3 separate regions of the Homo sapiens genome follow, and all the other regions are linked to region 2. The links are contacts of gene promoters, found by promoter capture Hi-C in human tissues and cell types (Jung and others, 2019). All regions are on one chromosome and are shown on one strand. Each heading gives the region's core, a stretch centred on a gene start or on the middle of the fragment in contact. The rest is flanking DNA. Distances are from core to core; before and after follow the strand shown. Region 1 overlaps CSE1L (chromosome segregation 1 like). Region 2 holds the start of ZNFX1 (zinc finger NFX1-type containing 1). Region 3 overlaps KCNB1 (potassium voltage-gated channel subfamily B member 1).

Evidence for each region. The method cuts DNA at HindIII sites, captures the fragments that hold promoters and counts their contacts. A contact is called where the count stands out against the background at its distance.
Region 1: a contact is called between a fragment that was not itself captured here and the fragment with the promoter of ZNFX1 in region 2, in 2 of the 25 tissues and cell types used here (adrenal gland and heart right ventricle).
Region 3: a fragment that was not itself captured here is called in contact with the fragment with the promoter of ZNFX1 in region 2 in 2 of the 25 tissues and cell types used here (aorta and dorsolateral prefrontal cortex).

Annotation. Positions count from the first base shown.
Region 1 is chr20:49,094,466-49,098,154 of GRCh38, forward strand. CSE1L (chromosome segregation 1 like) reads left to right here. Exons shown (of 25, transcript NM_001316.4): 24 at 267-498; 25 at 1,884-2,484. The coding sequence ends at 1,973. Among named protein-coding and RNA genes, the nearest start is that of CSE1L, 50 kb to the left of the region's middle. The HindIII fragment of the contact is 5,127 bases long and covers 1-3,689 here.
Region 2 is chr20:49,275,980-49,279,676 of GRCh38, forward strand. It overlaps ZNFX1 (zinc finger NFX1-type containing 1), which reads right to left and starts at 2,078. Exons shown (of 14, transcript NM_021035.3): 1 at 2,042-2,078. It overlaps ZFAS1 (ZNFX1 antisense RNA 1), which reads left to right and starts at 2,199. Exons shown (of 4, transcript NR_036658.2): 1 at 2,199-2,737; 2 at 3,125-3,229. SNORD12C (small nucleolar RNA, C/D box 12C) reads left to right here and starts at 2,966; the gene lies at 2,966-3,044. RefSeq lists enhancers at 1,253-1,312, 1,654-2,154, 2,155-2,655, 2,413-2,707, 2,583-2,782 and silencers at 1,853-2,082, 2,133-2,492. The HindIII fragment of the contact is 7,798 bases long and covers 1-3,646 here.
Region 3 is chr20:49,467,500-49,471,277 of GRCh38, forward strand. All of the region lies in intron 1 of KCNB1 (potassium voltage-gated channel subfamily B member 1), which reads right to left. Among named protein-coding and RNA genes, the nearest start is that of KCNB1, 13 kb to the right of the region's middle. The HindIII fragment of the contact is 3,354 bases long and covers 505-3,778 here.

The sequences.
Region 1 (3,689 bases), core at 769-3,268, 180 kb before region 2:
CTTCTTTTTCAGGGGGATTCATGGACCCCTTTAAGAGTCTGATCTAGGTGATCTCTAAGACAATTTTATGACAGAAGCCCAACTAAACTGACTTATCTTTAAGGGGAAGAACTGAATAAGCCAAGAAAAGAACCATCTTAATTTCAAAGGTCCCCTTTTATTCTTGAGACTATGAGTCTGTAATTTTGTGTCTCTGAGCAATTGCTGGTTTTAAGTCTTCCGAGTATTTTCTTGACCTTTTTATCTCTTGCTTTCTTCCAATCCAGGACTCCATTATTACAGTCTTTGATTGGTCTTTTTGAGTTACCCGAAGATGATACCATTCCTGATGAGGAACATTTTATTGACATAGAAGATACACCAGGATATCAGACTGCCTTCTCACAGTTGGCATTTGCTGGGAAAAAAGAGCATGATCCTGTAGGTCAAATGGTGAATAACCCCAAAATTCACCTGGCACAGTCACTTCACAAGTTGTCTACCGCCTGTCCAGGAAGGGTAAGTGTGTTGTCAAAGAACTCTGTGATAAATGGAGACTTTAATGGGAGGGCAAAAGGATAGTAGTAGTTCTGGTGTCTGTTTTCATTGGTGGGCGTAATAAAACTAAATCTCATTGAGTTACAGCAAGCTTATTTTCTTTAATTAAAAACACTGAGCCCTTTTTTTCTTGTATTATGTACTACAAATATATTTTAAGTGAATGGATTTAGGAGTGAGAACAAAGGAGGAAAAATCCCTTCAATAGAAATGTAATAAGGCTGTATAGTTGCATTTTGTCAGCACTTTATAATAAGAGTTTATTTCCCAGATCGAAGTAATCCATCTATTATTAAAATGTGGTAGCATTTTTTTATTTTTATTTTTATTTATTTATTTTTTTAGACAGGGTCTCACTCTTATCCAGGCTGGAATGCAGTAGTACGATTATGGCTCACTGCAGCCTCAACCTCCCAGGTTCAAGTGATCCTACTGCCTGTCAGCCTTCCAAGTAGCTAGGACCCACTATGCCCAGCTAATTTTTTATTTTTTTGTGGAGACAGGGTCTCCCTATGTTGTTCAGGTTGGTCTCAACCTCCTGGGCTCAAGCCATCCTCCTCCCTCAGCCTCCCAAAGTGCTGGGATTACAAGTGTGAGCCTGGACACAGTTATTTTTTTTTAATTGCAGCATACTCAGAAATTAATAGATCATGGCATAAACCTAATAATGACTGTATAGTTGCATTTTGTCAGCACTTATTATAGAGTTCTTACATGTTACCTGATAAAATATATATTTTTCAAGCCAGACACAGTGGTTTATGCCTGTAGTTCTAGTGCTTTGGGAGGCCAGGGCTGCAGTGAGCTATTACAGTGCCACTGCAATCCAGCCTGGGCAACAGAGCGAGGTCCCGTTTCTTAAAAAACATATATGTGTGTGGCGTGTGTATATATATGTATATATATTTTTTCATTGTATTATTACGGAGACTTTCAAACATATATAGAAAGAGCATAATGAAGCCTGCATGTGCCCAGCTTCAATAATTACCAATATCTTGCCAGTTTTGTTTCGTTTCTCCTTTTATTCTCTGTATTGAGCAAGTCTTAGACATCATACGTTTCACGCGTAAGTACCTTATTCTACATCATTAACCAGTAAGGACTTTTTAATTAACCACAATACCACTATCACACCTAATAATAGTAATTCCTTATGGATCTTTTCTTTAGACCTATTTTTGAAGGCATAAAAGCAGTTGAGTTTCTGGAGAATTTTTGGATGGTGATTAATGACTTGACTGGCTGCTCTTCCCAGAGCTGTGGCAGCTCTCCCGTAGAAGATGGGGTTTGTATTGGCGCACCAAGATCTCCAACAGCCAGTGTGTGTTTCCCATCTCTTGTAGGTTCCATCAATGGTGAGCACCAGCCTGAATGCAGAAGCGCTCCAGTATCTCCAAGGGTACCTTCAGGCAGCCAGTGTGACACTGCTTTAAACTGCATTTTTCTAATGGGCTAAACCCAGATGGTTTCCTAGGAAATCACAGGCTTCTGAGCACAGCTGCATTAAAACAAAGGAAGTTCTCCTTTTGAACTTGTCACGAATTCCATCTTGTAAAGGATATTAAATGTTGCTTTAACCTGAACCTTGAGCAAATTAGTTGGTTTGTGTGATCATACAGTTATGTGGGTGGCTTCTAGTTTGCAACTTCAAGGGACAAGTATTAATAGTTCAGTGTATGGCGTTGGTTTGTGTTGAGCGTTTGCACGGTTTGGATAATCTTAAATTTTGACGGACACTGTGGAGACTTTCTGTTACTAAATCCTTTTGTTTTGAAGCTGTTGCTATTTGTATTTCTCTTGTCCTTTATATTTTTTGTCTGTTTATTTACGCTTTTATTGGAAATGTGAATAAGTAAAGAATTACTTGTGTTACTTGCCAAGCAGTGCACATTTCATAGTTTCAAATCTGTAATCAGCAATAAAAATCCTAAAATATGTACCTAAGAACATCTTAAGGGCAGGTTTTCAGTGCTCTCTCATGCTTTTATAAAAATGAAGAATTTCTTTAAATTTCTTCCTTTTCCTTTCCTGGACTCTGTAAAATCCTAATTTCTAAATCATGTAAACTCAGATTATTTAGTCTTTTTTTTTATATGGGGGAAGGGGACATTAATATAGATTTGGGGCTTATTTACTAGAATTTTCTGTAGCAGTTCCTAGGTGGCAGTGTGAGTTTTGGGTAGGTGGCTCCTCTGGGAGAAATGCTCTGCCTCGCTTAATGGGATGGCGGTCGAGAGTACTTGAGACTGTGGATGTTTTGATCTCTTTCATCTCTGCTGTTCCCTGGAGAGTGGAGGTTACTTGGAACTTTTCAAACCCTGACACCTTAGAACCGTGAAGTCCAGTCCAGTGGTGGATCCGGCCGGATGCCTGGTGAGCTTGGTTGCACTGGCTCCCTCCCTTGGCCTGGCCCATGGAATTGTACAGCATTCGTTTCTGAGGAATGAAGAATCAGAATATCTAAATTTTGTGAGGCACAGTTTATGCTGGAATTGTTCATTGTCCATTCAGTGTAGTTAAACTGGAACTTTTGTCTTCCCAGCTCAAGTGATTTGTCACAGGAGTTATCGATATCCCTTTTTTTTTTCTTTTTTACCCCCAAGATAAGAGTCTTGTTCTGTTGACCAGGCTGGAGTGCAGTGGCACAATCTCAGTTCACTGCAACCTCCACTTCCTGGGTTTGAGCAATTCTCCTGCCTCAGCCTCTCGAGTAGCTGGGATTACAGGCGTCCGCCACCACGCCCAGCTAATTTTTGTATTTTTATTAGAGATGGGGTTTCACCATATTTGTCAGGCTGGTCTCGAACTCCTGACCTCATGATCTGCCTGCCTCGGCCTCCCAAAGTGCTGGGATTACACGCGTGAGCCACTGTGCCTGGTGATAACTTTTTTAATCTTAGGCACTTGACTCGAATGGTTTTTCTTATTTTGAATTTTTTTTTTTTTTTTTTTTTTTTTTTTTGAGACGGAGTCTCACTCTTGCCCAGGCTGGAGTGCAGTGGCACAATCTCAGCTGACTGCAACCTCCGCCTCCCAGGTTCAAGCGATTCTCCTGCCTCAGCCTCCTGAGTAGCTGGGATACAGGCATGCATCACCATGCCTGGCTATTTTTTGTATTTTTAGTAGAGACAGGGTTTCACCATGTTGGC
Region 2 (3,697 bases), core at 828-3,327:
ATTTTAATGATTTGTTAACTAAGGGTTAAATACAGATTTTAATCTAGAGCACAAGTGCTCGACTCTGCAAATGCCCAATTATGATATAAAATATTAAATTCACAATTTAGCTGATTTCAAGAGATAGAATTCCCCTTTCTTTTACCCTGGCACTTTCTTGGGGTAGAGGGAATGTCATCAATTCCCATTCAAAACTGCTGTTTGGTTTATGCCTTTAGCCAAGTTACTTAATCAGTTGCTAGGTTTCATTTTCCTTTCCTAAGAAGCAGACAATATTGTTGCCAGGACAAAAAGGAGTACATTTTTGTTAATCCAAAACCATGTGCTCACCACCTTATCTGGCATTTACATATCTGCCACTTATATAGTACCCAATAGCTTGCAGTACCCTACAGTTTATAAATAATTAGTGAGCAGTTATCCCCTTAGCCTACTCTTTGGAATGGAGCCAAATGATTAAGCTCTCTGCTCTACTGAATCAAGAGAAAGAAATTACATGTTTCAATAACCAGGAGGTTTGGCAACTACGAGGTGCTGTTTCCTCAGGACCAGCTAGAAATCTGATATTCTTTCTTCCTCCTCATTCTTCTACCTTGGTGATTTTTGACACTGGTCCTGTAAGAGGAAGAGGAAGCCCCTTTAAGGGAGCTTCTCAACCCAACTCATACACATGGTGTGGGCTGGGGCTAAGGAAAGAGTGGGTGACTCAGAGTCCTCAGCAAAGGGATTTTTGAGACTGTCTTCACTGAGTTCTAAAATATTCATAATTGGAAACTGTGACTACATTTGGCATTATATGAGGGGCAGCTTTTTTCCTCATCTGAAAAAGGAGTCTCTTTTCTTCCCCCTGGGAATATCTCTGGTGAGTCCCCTCCCTCATCTTATCAAACCCAGCCCTCCTGGCGCAGGCTCAGTATTTAGAGTTTGTTTGTTTATTTTCAATTCTCCGAGGGGAAAATTCCTTCTTCCCCTTGTTGAAAAATGCTAAAATAGAAACTCCAGAAAATTTAAAAGAAACGGAAGAAAAGAAAAAAAGATGTTAAAAAAAAGGCAAGGGAAGGAAGGGAGGAGTAGACATGAACAGGAAATGCTGGGATCGAAAACAGACTGAAGTGTTTTTTTTTGGTGGGGGGAATCAAGGCCTAAAGGGCACGAAGAAGAAAATCAGTGATGATCAAGCTGGCCTGGAGTCAGAATGAGAGGGGCTAGTCATCACCAGAGTGGGACGCAGGAGGCTGAGGTCGGAGGCAGAGCTGGGTTTGGGGGAAGTCTCCAGGGTCCTGGGGAATCCCTGACCCAGGGAGCCCACGGTCCCTAATGGAAATGTTATGGGGTCAGGGAGCGCCAAGGCTGTGAGGTGGCGGGGTTATGGGGGCCTTGGGGAGAGGGTGGTAGCGAGCACCAGGGGGTGCTTGCTGAGGACGGAGGCGGCGGGGTGGGGGCAGGGAGCAGGCTGAAGGGGGTGCCGAGGTGCTCTGTAGAAGAGGGGGATTGATAAGGTGACAGGAGGTGAGGCCGGAGGAATGAGGGGGGTGCGAGTGGCAGAAGGGAGGGCACAGACAGGGGTAGGGGCAGAGGAGATCGAAGTGCTGAGGGCAGAAGCGGTGACGGTGTCGGGGGTGCTGGGGAGAGCGACGGGCCAGCTGAGGGGATGGGGACACTAAAGAGAGTACAGGGGAGCCGAAGGGGCGACGGGGCGCTGAGATGGGCCAGGGGCTGAGTGGGTGACGGGGCGCTGAGTAGGCGATGGAGGTCTGGGGTCTGAGGGGGAGACGGGGCGCTGAGAGGCGCTCTGAGTGGGTGCTGATGCCGCTGGGGGCCAAAGAGGTGACAAGGCTCTGAGTGGGTGATGGGGGTCTGGGGATTGAGGGGGCGACGGGGCGCTGAGGGGCCAGGGGCTCTGAGCGGGTGACGGGTGCGTTGGGGGCTTGAGAGGGTGACAGGTCTTACGGGCAGAGGCAGTGGCGGGTCGGCGCGGGCGCCGGGGTTCGCGGCGAGGCAAGGAAGAATCAGGGGCAGGGGCAGTTGCGGGGCCACTCACCCGGCTCCGGCGCGTCCTTTCACTGCCGCCGGCGAGTGCTGGGGCTTCGGCCCAGGCAGGTCGGTGGCCCCGCCCGGCGCCGCGCACTTTCGGTTTCCGTTCCCCGCAGACCCTGGGCGGAGCCGGGCGGGCGGCCCAGAGGAGGAGAAGGAGGAGGCGGGGGCCCAGGGTGGAGAGCACGAGGGCCTGGCCCAGGCACGGCCGGCGCCTCCGCCCTCGAGGAGGGCGTCACCTCAGCTCCCCCCGGCGGCGGAGCCGGCGGGCTCAGGCGGGCGCGGCTGAGGGGAGCGGACCGCGGGGGGCGGGAGATGACTGCGCCCAAGGCCTTTGCGGGCCTCAGCCGGCCCCAGAGGAAGGGGAACCCGTCGAGCGGTTTGGTGCGTGTGAAGCGCGACATGGCGAGGAAGCGGACAAGCCCGGGTGGCCCGGCGTGTAGAGGGAAGGGGGCGGGGCTAGACGCGGCCTGGACAACTACTAGAGCGCCTCGGGCTGTGCTGCTCGAGACTACATTTCCCAGAGCGACGCGCGCGGAGCGGGCGGGAAAGAGAGCGTTTCGGGTCCAGTGCGCAGGTGCGAAAGCCATCTTTGGTTATATAAGGGAGGTTCAGGAAGCCATTCGTTCTTTCGCGTCTGCGGTGCCCGGAGTGTGGTACTTCTCCTAGTTGCAGTCAGGCTTCATACGCTATTGTCCTGCCCGTAAGTTCCCGTTTTGTGTGTGGTGAGTGGAAACTCCATGTTCTTCGTTGGAGACCTCTGGTCCTCCCTTCCCTTCTTTGTGCCGTCGTCTCTGCGGCCAGCCCTAATCTCCTTCTCGTGGCTTCTCCGTCTCTGACCCCAAATAGGCCTTAAGGGCGTGGGAGAAATGAGTTTCTGGAGCTGGAAAAGCCACTGCCTTCTGCACGGGCCTGAGAAGCCCTTGGCTGGTGTAAATGATGACTTCACTTTTTTCCCCATCAGATCGACAATGCTGACGTCTTATATTTTGCCAGTTAGTTCTGATACATCGGCCTCAAAAGGCCCGGCCTTGTTCGTTTCTGACCGTGGGAAGATGGCGGTTAACGCCCTTTATTTGTTGGTTCACAGGTTAGAGCAGCCAGCGGGTACAGAATGGATTTTGGAAGAGGGAGTCACCACTGGACCTCCAAGGAAGCCACGTGCAGACATCTACAACCTTCGATCTCCTGACGAGTAAGTCTTTGTCTCCTATGGGTCTACTGTAGAAAACACGTGCTTTGAGAAGCTTTAGTTTTCTAGGAAAACGTGGGATTTAACAAAGCACTTTCTATCGAGCATTTATTAGGTATTTAAAAAAGTGTTCTGACGGCCGGGCGCTGTGGCTGACGCCTGTAACCCCAGCACTTGGGGAGGCCAAGGCAGATGGGTCACCTGAGGTCAAGATTTGGAGACCAGCCTGGCCAACATGGTGAAACCCTGACTCTATTAAAAATACAGAAATTAGCTGGGCGTGGTGGTACGCGCCTGTAATCCCAGCAACTCACAAGGCTGAGGCAGGAGAATTGCCCGAACCCGGGCGGCGGAGGTTGTAGTGAGTTGAGATTGCGCCACTGCCCTACAGTCGGGGCAACAGAGCCAGACTCCGTCTCAAAAAAAAAAAAAAAAGAAAAACATGTTCTGAATGTTTTATTCTCACAGTTC
Region 3 (3,778 bases), core at 932-3,431, 190 kb after region 2:
TCACACAAAGCTTAGAAAGACTCAGGGATGGCCTGTAGGGAGTGATTAGTGACAATTGATGATCTGTTTTTAGAAACTGTTTGGTTCTAGGCCCATTACCTGGTGGATGTAAGTGATGGTGTGGAATTGGCAAATGCAATATTATTCTCTCAAAGACAGTGCCTGCCTGCCAGCCCATGGTGGGCAGTTGTGGTAGAAACCAGTCTCATTTCAGAGCAAAAATGGAGCAGCTGCCAGGTGCAGTGGCTCATACCTGTAATCCCAACACTTTGGGAGGCCAAGGTGAGAGGATTGCTGAAGCCCAGGAGTTTGAAACTGGCCTGGGTAACATAGGAAGACCCTGTCTCTACAAAAAAAGAGTACAAAAATTAGCCGGGTGTGGCGGTGGTGCACACTTGTAGTCCCAGCTACTCAAGGGGCTGAGGTGGGAGGATCATTTGAGCCCAGGAGGTCAAGGTTACAGTGAGCCATGATCGCGCCACTGCATTCCAGCCTGGGCAATAGAGCGAGACCTTGTCTCAAAAACAGTCAGGGTGTGAGGGAACACCTCAAGTGTCTAACTTAATTGTGTGTCTCCTCTCTGTAAATGGAAGGCAAAAGGCCACTTCTTTCTGCAGGCAGGTAGAGACAAGAAAGGTGGAAGGAGCAGGGTGTACCTGGAAGAGACCCTTACCTTTTAAGGAAGACCCCTCTGATCAGTCATCACAAGATCATGCACATTTGCTCATTTATTCACTCAACAAACGTTTACCAACACCTACCTGCAGTAACAATAGTAATAGTGAAATATACTGAACACCTGCTGAGTGCCAGGCACGGCTTGAGTGTTTCATATAGAATTTGCCCAACAACCCTGGTTGTTATGAGGCTTTCCAAATTACGGATCAGGACATTGAAACCTAGAGAAGTTATGTAATTCCCCAAAGGGCACACAGCTCAAAAGTGGCTGAGCTGGGATTTGAACCCAGGCAGTCAGGCTGCACAGCCTGCACGCTTAAGCTTTCCTGTTTCTCTGTAGGCCAGGCCTGGCATCCACAGAACAACCCACAAGTGAATTTTCACGATGTTTTGTGCGAGGAAGGTATGAACGTCAGGTTTCCGGTGCACAGAGGAGGGAGCAGTCAGTGCTGCCTGAAGGGAAGTGTAGGTGGTGGTAGGGGGGCGGGGGGTGGTTAAAGAAGGCTTCACAGAGGAGGTGGTGGGGAAGCTGGGCCTTGAAGGTGGAAAGAGAGAGGCTGCAGGCAGAGAAGAGGAAGAAATGGGTGCAAGGCAGAGGAACAGCTTGGGCAAGAGGGTGACCAGCGCTGAGGAAGGCTGGAGCTTTTGGGGGCATGCAGAAAGGTTAGTGTGGTGGTCGCAGAGGGTGTCTGAAGAAGGGATGGGGAGGAGATGAAGGTGGAGAGTTGGGTTGGGATGTCGAAAGCCAGGCTAAGGAGTGTGGACTATCCTGGGGGCAGTGGGAACTATGGAAGTTTTGGGAAGGGGGTGATGAAGTTGAGCAGACTGCATTTGAGAAAGTCGGCTCTGGCTGCTCTGCAGAGGTTGAACTGGATGGGAAAGGCTGGAAGCAGGGAGCCTATTCTGGGGCTCAGAGGCTCCCAGGAAGGGTCAGAGTTCAGCAGTGACCCACAAGGTCGCACCTCTGATCTCACCTCCTTCTACTCTCTTGCCTCCGGTACACTCTGCTCCAACCACATTAATACCTGAATGTTCCTTGAGTGCCCCAGGCACGTTCCTGTCCCAGGGCCTTAGCACTGCTTTTCTCTCCACCCAGAGCACTCTTCCCCCACATGCCCACATGCCTGTCTCCCTCCCTTTCTACTTGGCACCTTCTCCTTTCCTGACCAGCCTGGTTAAGCCCCAGCACTCCCCTCCTTCCCTGCAGAACTTTCTCCACAGTGCCATCCAAAATATTATATCAGGCCGGGCACGGTGGCTCACGCCTGTAATCCCAGCACTTTGGGAGGCCAAGGTGGGTAGATCACTTGAGGTCAGGAGTTTGAGACCAGCCTGGCCAACATGGTGAAATCCCATCTCTATTAAAAATACAAAAAATTAGCTGGGCATGGTGGCGGGTGCCTGTAATCCCAGCTACCTGGGAGGCTGACGCAGGGGAATTGCTTGAACCTGGGAGGCAGAGGTTGCAGTGAGCCGAGATTGAGCCACTGCACTCCAGCCTGGGCGACAGAGCAAGACTCTGTCTCAAAAAAAAAAAAAAACTACATAATTATTTGATCTTGTCATTTCGTCCATAAACACTTCAGTATGTGTATCTAAAAGATAAAGATTTTAAAACATAGTCGTAATAGCATTATCACATCTAAAAACACAGCATTCATTCCTCAATATCATCCAATATTCAGTTAGCATTCATCTTTCTTTCCCTGATTGTCTTACAGTCTCATGATTTATTTTGCATGGTTGTTTTGGTCCAATCAGTATCTGTGTTTATTTTTTTAACAGTCTTGCTCCTTCTTCTACTGGAATATCAGTGCCATGAGAGCTGGGATCTTTGTTTTGATCTCTGCTTTGTCCCCAGCACCCAGCACAATGCTTGACACATAGTAGGTGCTCAATAAGTTCCACTGAATGAATATACACAACCAATCCTGATAATAAAAGTTTGTTATTGACCTGTTGGGCATTATGTGTCTGTTACTGTTATTTGCCATAATTATCAAATCCTTACAATCTCCTTATGAGGTACGTGCTGTGATTAGGTCCATTTTACAGATGAGGAAACAGCTACGTGACCCAAGGACTCACAGCTTAAAAAAAGGCTAGGGCTTAAGACCCATTGCACAGCCTGAGGGTCTGTGACCACTGGTGGAGGCAGGGGCGTTGTGGCTTCCCAGGAGCTGCCTCCACACCTTACATCCAGAGTCCAGCCACTTTTCACCGATCTTCCCTGCCACCACCCTCTTCTGGGCTGTCATCTTTCTTCTCTTTCCTGGAATAATGCAATATCCTCCTGGCAGCGGCTTATCCCTTCTTTCTCTAATGTCCATTCTCCACTGCTAAACATCCTCCAATGCACAGGACAGCCCCACGGCAAAGAATTCTCCATCGCCAAATGTCAGTAGCACTAAGGTTGAGAAACTGGGCTCTGGTTGAAAAACCAGACACATTCTTCATCCAGAGCCTGGCATAAGCAGCTGAGAGTCAGACTTCTAGCAATGTGTTAGTAATAAGAGTGAAAGTCCCAAAGTTTGTAAACAAATTCCTTTTTCATCAATTAGTATTCTCAGTTATCTCTAGGATAACATCATTCATTCATTTATTCAATGCATGTATTTCATGCCTGCTCTATGGCAGGCACTGAAGACACAACAGTGGACAAAGCACACAAAATCCCTGCCCTTTGAAGCTTACATCAAAGTGGGAGAGAGAGAAAGGAATCATATAATTAAGTAATTATATGTCAGGTTGAAACAAATAAAGCAGCCATGGGGAATGAACAGTGCTATTTTATATGTGGTGGTCAAGGATGGCCTTGCTGAGATGACATTTGAGCTGAGACTTGAACAATGTGAGGGGTGAGTCTCGTGGCATCAGCAGGAAGACCGTACCAGGCAGAAGGGACGGACAGTAAGTGCAAAAGCCCTGAGGTGGGAGGGTGCCTAGAACAGCAAGGAGGCCACTGTGGATGCAACAGAGTGATGGAGAGGGAGAGTGGTAGGGAAGGAGGCTGTAAGGGTGCTGGGAAAAGGGGAAAGATGCCAGATAATGGGCCCTGTGAGTGGGACTGAGGAGTTGGGCTTTTTCTCGGAGTGAGGCA